2 separate regions of the Homo sapiens genome follow, and region 2 is linked to region 1. The links are contacts of gene promoters, found by promoter capture Hi-C in blood cells and fetal thymus (Javierre and others, 2016). All regions are on one chromosome and are shown on one strand. Each heading gives the region's core, a stretch centred on a gene start or on the middle of the fragment in contact. The rest is flanking DNA. Distances are from core to core; before and after follow the strand shown.

Region 1 (3,204 bases), core at 333-2,832:
ACTCCTGACCTCAGGTGATCCGCCCGCCTTGGCCTCCCAAAGTGCTGGGATTACAGGTGTGAGCCACCGTGCCCAGCCAACTTGTCTCTCTTAACATGGTGACACTCACTCCTTCCTCAGCTCACATGGTTCTCTCTCAGCTGACTTCTAATCATCCTTCCAGATTTAGTTCAGTATCAACTCTTCAAGCCTTTCTTCCCTGCTGCAGCCTCCTTTCCTTCACCTGCCAACAGATTAGGTATTCCTTCCCCTGCAGTCCCCCTTTACCTCATTTCTAATTAACCTCATCACAAGTTACTCTATTAATATGTGTTTCTGTCTGTTGCTCCTGACTCAGAGTTCTTTGAGGACAGGGGTTTTATATCAATCACACATCGCTAGCATAGCCCCTGGAATATAGCACTCTATACCATATGTGTACCAAATGGAAGGGTTTATATCGGGCTTACAAATCACAGCAAAGAATGTCTGGGAATATCAGGATAGTCAGTCTTCCATATTTGCTGGGAGGGAAAAGGAACACTTCTGAAGAAGTGCTGATGACCCGGAAAGTCAGTTAAGGACAACAGGTGTGCCTAAAAAAGAAGTAAAGATCAGAGAACTCACAGACTTCCATTAGAGAGAACACAAAGAAATCATTTATTTAAAGATCAGACTAAATCCAAAACAATTAGGTTCACAAAGCCAACAGAAATGCAAGATACAGACATACACAGCCAACATTCTCTTAAGTCAATTTCAAAATGTTGAAAGCTATTTCGGCAATAAAAATCACAAACTTTCTGCACTGCCAAGGTGAGGGAAATTACATTTCAAAGGCGATTCCAAAAAAACCTAATCAAGACTTTCCTCAGGATCAATTTTTGGTATTCACATTTCCTTAGCATGTAATACAGGTGCCTGTCTTCGGCGTACGGATAAACCCAGAAGGCCAAGAGCAAAAATCGTGATTAACTTTAAAGAGTTTAACTTGCACCCCTTGTATGATGCCACAGGATACAATACTATAAACCGCCACTCACACAAGATGAGTTACAGTTGCCATGGGTTAAATCTGCTGCCTGGAAAACAAATTTTAAGTCCTCCACCCAGAAGGGTCTGGGGAATGGGACGCAACAAAGACCAAGCCAGAACACCCCGGAGCCCAGACCTGCTCAGAAAACGCGTTCCACGTGTGCGCGCCCGCAAGCCCGGCTTCGCTTCCCGCCCCGCGGGGAGCGCCCTTAGCTGCCCTATAGCGTTCGCGCCCGGACCAGGACGAGTAGAGGGGACGGGGCCCTCGAGCCATCGAGGATATAATAAATACCCGTTAGTCACACCACACTACCTTCCTGCTAGCGCGAGGCAGGCAATTACCATCCACTAGCCGCAAGCAGCCAGCGTCTCACCCGATGCGCAGGCCCAACCCCGCACCCGCACCCGCACCCAGCACGCACGCGCGCGGCAGAGCGGGTGCAGAGAGCGCGGCACTGAGTCCCGCCTCGCCCGGGGGCAACGTGAGATTGGCGCTGCTCGCAGCCAATCCGCTGGCAGCGAGTCTGTCCGGGAAAGCTTCCGCAAGCTGCGCAGCGCCGGGCCTGAGGGCGTGTATCCGCGGCCGTAGCAGCCGGGCTGGTCCTGCTGCGAGCCGGCGGCCCGGAGTGGGGCGGCGGGTAAGTGGGCACGAACGCGGTGGACGCTGTACAGTCGCCTTCGTCGGTAGGGAACTGCTGGCGGCCTAGGGGTCGTCCTGAGAGGGAAAAGCGGGCTCCGGCTGCATCTGCGGCGCCCTGCGTGGCCGTAAGAGCCAAGTGGCCTCAGAGGCTCGCCCCCTACGCAAATCCTCGTTGTCTTGCCAGGGTCCTGACGTGACGTGCGGCCGCGAGAAGGAAGGGGCGGGTTGGGGGAGGCGCTGAGGTGGTAGCAGCGGCGGCTTTTGCTGAGTTTTCTCTGGCCCAGAGCGCTCGGGCTGTCGGTCTAGCAGGGGGGACTCCCCTGAGGGGCCGCTGCGGGTCGCCGTCTTCGGAGGCACCGGCGAGGGCAGAGCCAACAGCCTCTTCACGGTCTGTAAGGTCATTGTTTGCCAGTCGTGGGCAGCGCGGCAAACCTGCTGGGAAAAGGTTTTCTGGTTGGAATAGGATGAGTACCGCACCAGCTTTGCCTTCCAGCTGAGATGTAAATTTCAGGCCTCCATCCTGTGGAACGTGGGAAAACTATCTTGAGTGTTGGCATGTTCTAAGTATGACATAATAGTTTAATGTATGATAAATCATGGGTGTTTAGACGAAAGATTTACACATATAAATTGGAGGCTTTAGCGGTCTTAGTGTAACTAACTTTTCGTCCCCTTAACCCTTGATGCCTGTTCTATGGGTCTCTAGAGCGGAAGGAGCATTATACTCCGGAAACATTTGCTGGAAGGGGTTATGAGAAATTCCTCTCTGTATGCTAACTCCGTAATACAAGCGTTTGTGTATTTTAAAATCACAGCTGTTCCAAATATAATCTAGCCTCGTTTTCCCCCTCCGTCGGATGATAGGTGTTCTTCAGGACAGTTTTATTTTAAGCAATTCTTAGTCTCAAGTAAACACCATCATTAAAAGAACTGAGAACTATTATCAATTCTTCCTTTGGAGTCCATCTTCAATGGAAAGGAGAAGGGAAAACCTTTTTTAAAAAGAAGAAAGAAAACTGAAGTTTTTGATTTGACTAGAGAAATATTCAGAAGACTCCTTATTTTCACCTAGTTTAATCACAAAATTGAGAAACAAACATTATCCCTTGACCATGTAAATTTTACACCACATTATGTCAACAGCATGTACCTTCCACATTGAGTATTCAGAAAGAAGTGATCTGAACTCTGACCATTCTTTATGGATACATTAAGTCAAATATAAGAGTCTGACTACTTGACACACTGGCTCGGTGAGTTCTGCTTTTTCTTTTTAATATAAATTTATTATGTTGGTAAATTTAGCTTTTGGCTTTTCACTTTGCTCTCATGATATAAGAAAATGTAGGTTTTCTCTTTCAGTTTGAATTTTCCTATTCAGTAAAACAACATGCTAGAAAACAAACTTTTGGAAAGGCATTGTAACTATTTTTTCAAATAGAACCATAATAACAAGTCTTGTCTTACCCTAAAGTCAAATGCTGAAGATTCTTTACTGCTGTCATCAGCATCTACAAGTAGCATATTTTGGATGGTGTTTGTGTGCTACT
Region 2 (3,132 bases), core at 44-2,543, 750 kb before region 1:
AAATACATTCATCATTCAACAACCCACCTGTTTATTTTAGCTACTTTCCATAGTGCCATCCAAAATTAAACCAAATCAAAATGAATGTGGTTAGGTACAAAAGCTGTCTTGCAAGAAGCAAGTGCACACCGCACCTGGGAATACAGGAAAGAATTGGATCAGGGCTCTGCTGTTTCTCTGAAGACAGGCTTCACTCAAGTAATGATGGTTTATTTTTAAAAACCATCCCTCTGAAGAGTCCCTTACAAGGAAATTTCTTAACTTTTTAAAAGCCATACATGGTGTACACATGGTGCCAAGTGCTTAAGGGCAGTTGGTTAAACCTTTCTTTGAGGGCAAGGAAAGCCTAGTCCATCCTACTCAGACTTTTAGGAAAAATGAGGCTTATCTATTTTTAACAGGATAATTTCTGTTACTTTGGGTTCTCTAAGATATCTCACCAAAAGACCAGAATTAGAGAAGACTGTCCTAGTTAAGTATGGAATATTGAGTCAAATTAATGGGTTCCAGGTCCTGTGGAGGGAATGTTCTTTAAAATATATGTATATCTCCTAATTATCAGTATTAAGATCATTCAGGTTATATGTTAATTTAAAAATATATCTATTACATTAAGAAACTTTTTTTTAACATAAGGTAATTTTAAGAGAACCTTGTCATGTTGGTGAAGGAACATTTTACGAGCCCCTCTGTACTCTGAAATGCCGTGTCCGAGATTAGACATACAAGTCAGTGTTACTTAAGCGGCCAAATTTCCAATTTGTTATTGCTTGTTACCAAATGAAAGTAAAAAGATAAACAGAAAGGTAAAATAAAGAAACTGGCTTTTATGTATTTTATTCACAAAAAGGGCGTTTGCCGAAGGACCTTCCCATTCACGGGCTGTCACTCACAGGTGCTCGGAGAATTCAGCCTCCAAATCCGCAGGTCACAGGTCAGCCAAGTTTTAAGAAACACTCCGGGTTAGCGACTCTTCCTCTCTGCAACTCCCACCCCTGCGCCGAGGGCAGCGGGACACGGCCGGGCGGTCCCCAGGGGAAGATGAGGCCCTGGACGCCCCGCGTGCGCTGGAGGCCCGGAGGCCAAGGCCGAGGCCGAGGCCGAGGCCGGGAGCATGCCAGCGGGGTCGCGCCACCGAAAGCTCCTCCGGCCTGGGCCCGCCGTGCCCCGAGGCCGCGGGCGGAGGCTGGAGCAACGAGCCCAACTCTCCCTCCGCCCCGGGGAGGCGGGGTCTCCGCCTTTCCCGCGTTCGGGCCTCACCGCCCCCTCCGCCTTCTCTGAGCCCCCGCGCCACTTCCGCTCCTCGCAGCGGAGCCGGTCCCCTAGGGCTCGGGTCGCACGGAGCTGACCCCTAACGAAATGGGGCCGCGCCAAGGGCGGTGGTGGCTGCTGCTCTGGCTGCCGCCCCTGGCCACACTGCCCGTGCGCGGGGAGGCGGCGGCGGCAGCGTTATCAGGTAACCCGGGACCGGCGGCGGCGGCGCGCGCGTGCGTGCTCGCTCCCCGGCTTCGCGGCTGCCCTGAGGGCGCGCTCTTTGGCCCGGGCGGCACCGCGAGGCCCACTGGGGCGGGCGCTCCCTTTTCTCGCTTTGGGGTCTCCCGGGCAGGCCCCGCCCGCCCTTCCTGTCTTACTGGGCTTCCGTAGTCTCTCGCCTGGCAGTTGGACATTTTGTAATTTTAGAATTAGAAGCAACCGCGCGATCCAGTCGCCCAATTCCCTCGTTTTACAGAAGCAACCGAAACTCAGAGAGGTTTTGATTTGCCCAGGGTCACACAGCTTGTCACTGGCACAGCTGACCCTAGTCTCCAGACTTTCAGCACACGGCCTTTTGTACAGTACATCAATGCGTGTTGAAATCCTTGTTATTTCACTATCTCGCATTCCTTTGGTCTCAAGACTAGAGAAGGTAACAGCTTCAGCTTCAGAATCGGAGCGAAAATTCTTCTGCCCCTGACTGTTGTGACCTTGAGCGAGTAAACATAACGGTCCCACGTGAGCGGCAGGTAATGAGGCCTCACAAGGTTCTTGTGGTGTTCGTGTGCACAATGCCTGGCACACAGGAAGCAAGAACTGGTAGCGGCTGCTAGCTGTAGGGGCTCGCCACGGAGTGGGCTTAAGATGCTGGCACACTGGGGAAGGATCTGGGAAGGACACCTGGGGAAGTCAGAAACCTAGAGTTCCAACTCCAGACCTGCCGCTAACTTACCATGAGCTTCACATTTCTGTTTCTTTTTTTTTTTCCCCTCATAAAATCTTTTAAAAGATTTCCTGGGTGCACTGTCTACCAACTTCCCTTCCTTGCTTTGGCTACCCTGGTTTCAAGGGAGGCTGCCAAGTGTATTCTTTTAGCTGGGCATGGCCCTCCCTCCGGTTATACCGCGGTTTTTTATCTAAGGATGAATGAGAGACTGGATGTTGATGAGGTCATTATCAGATTCTGCCACAGCTCCCAACTGAGGGAATCTTGCAGTGAGTTATATGTTGGGGAAGTGTTGGATTCCAGTTTTCATTGAAGAGAAATTTTTTGAGTGTTCAGTATGTGCTAGGCAGTGTTATAAGTGCTTTAACTGCAGTATCTATCATATTTAATACCCATAGAAGCCCTATGCGGGAAAGCACCATTTTATACCCATTTTACAGATGAGAAAACGAAGGTTTGGTAGTAAGAAATACAACAATTTTATGCTGGTGAAAAAATAAAACACAAATCTGTCTAAGCAGGAAGGTTTCTGGGCATGGCAACAGCGAGAAAATTAGAAGTAGCCTTAGACCAGCACCCAGCACCTTGGGTTCTAGACCACTCATTCCTTCAGCCACAACTTGTGGTATAACCTTGGTCCAGGCACAGAGTCTTTATGGACCGTAGTTTTCTCTTGAGTAAAATGAAGATGTTTTTACTGAAGAGTTTCCAGTATTTTCCTCACCTCAGTGAACCTGGTGTTTTTAAAGTTTTTATGTTACCGCATTTAGTATAATAGTAACAGCCTGCTTCTCTGCTTTGTTAATCAAAGACACACATAAATACTTATTGGAGCTTCTGTTCTGCCTGAGACATGCAGGATGCCCACTGACTTGATAAAACTAGTCCACAGCTAAGAAGAATGGCAACTTTTGTAGCCTTAGAGGGATGCC

The links. The method cuts DNA at HindIII sites, captures the fragments that hold promoters and counts their contacts. A CHiCAGO score of 5 or more calls a contact.
Region 2: the fragment with the promoter of NEMP2 here is called in contact with the fragment with the promoter of ORMDL1 in region 1 in 16 of 17 cell types (fetal thymus, total B cells, monocytes and 13 more); the score reaches 20.1 in fetal thymus.

The regions. Positions count from the first base shown.
Region 1 is chr2:189,782,717-189,785,920 of GRCh38, reverse strand. It overlaps ORMDL1 (ORMDL sphingolipid biosynthesis regulator 1), which reads left to right and starts at 1,582. Exons shown (of 5, transcript NM_016467.5): 1 at 1,582-1,652; 2 at 2,798-2,907. PMS1 (PMS1 homolog 1, mismatch repair system component) reads right to left here and starts at 1,471. Exons shown (of 13, transcript NM_000534.5): 1 at 1,328-1,471. RefSeq lists enhancers at 1,054-1,103, 1,654-1,883, 1,894-1,953, 2,044-2,123, 1,409-2,295 and a silencer at 1,464-1,513. The HindIII fragment of the contact is 2,480 bases long and covers 1,554-3,204 here.
Region 2 is chr2:190,532,883-190,536,014 of GRCh38, reverse strand. NEMP2 (nuclear envelope integral membrane protein 2) reads left to right here and starts at 1,293. Exons shown (of 9, transcript NM_001142645.2): 1 at 1,293-1,456. The coding sequence starts at 1,360. It overlaps NEMP2-DT (NEMP2 divergent transcript), which reads right to left and starts at 1,177. Exons shown (of 5, transcript NR_183903.1): 1 at 894-1,177. RefSeq lists a silencer at 980-1,629. The HindIII fragment of the contact is 6,238 bases long and covers 1-3,132 here.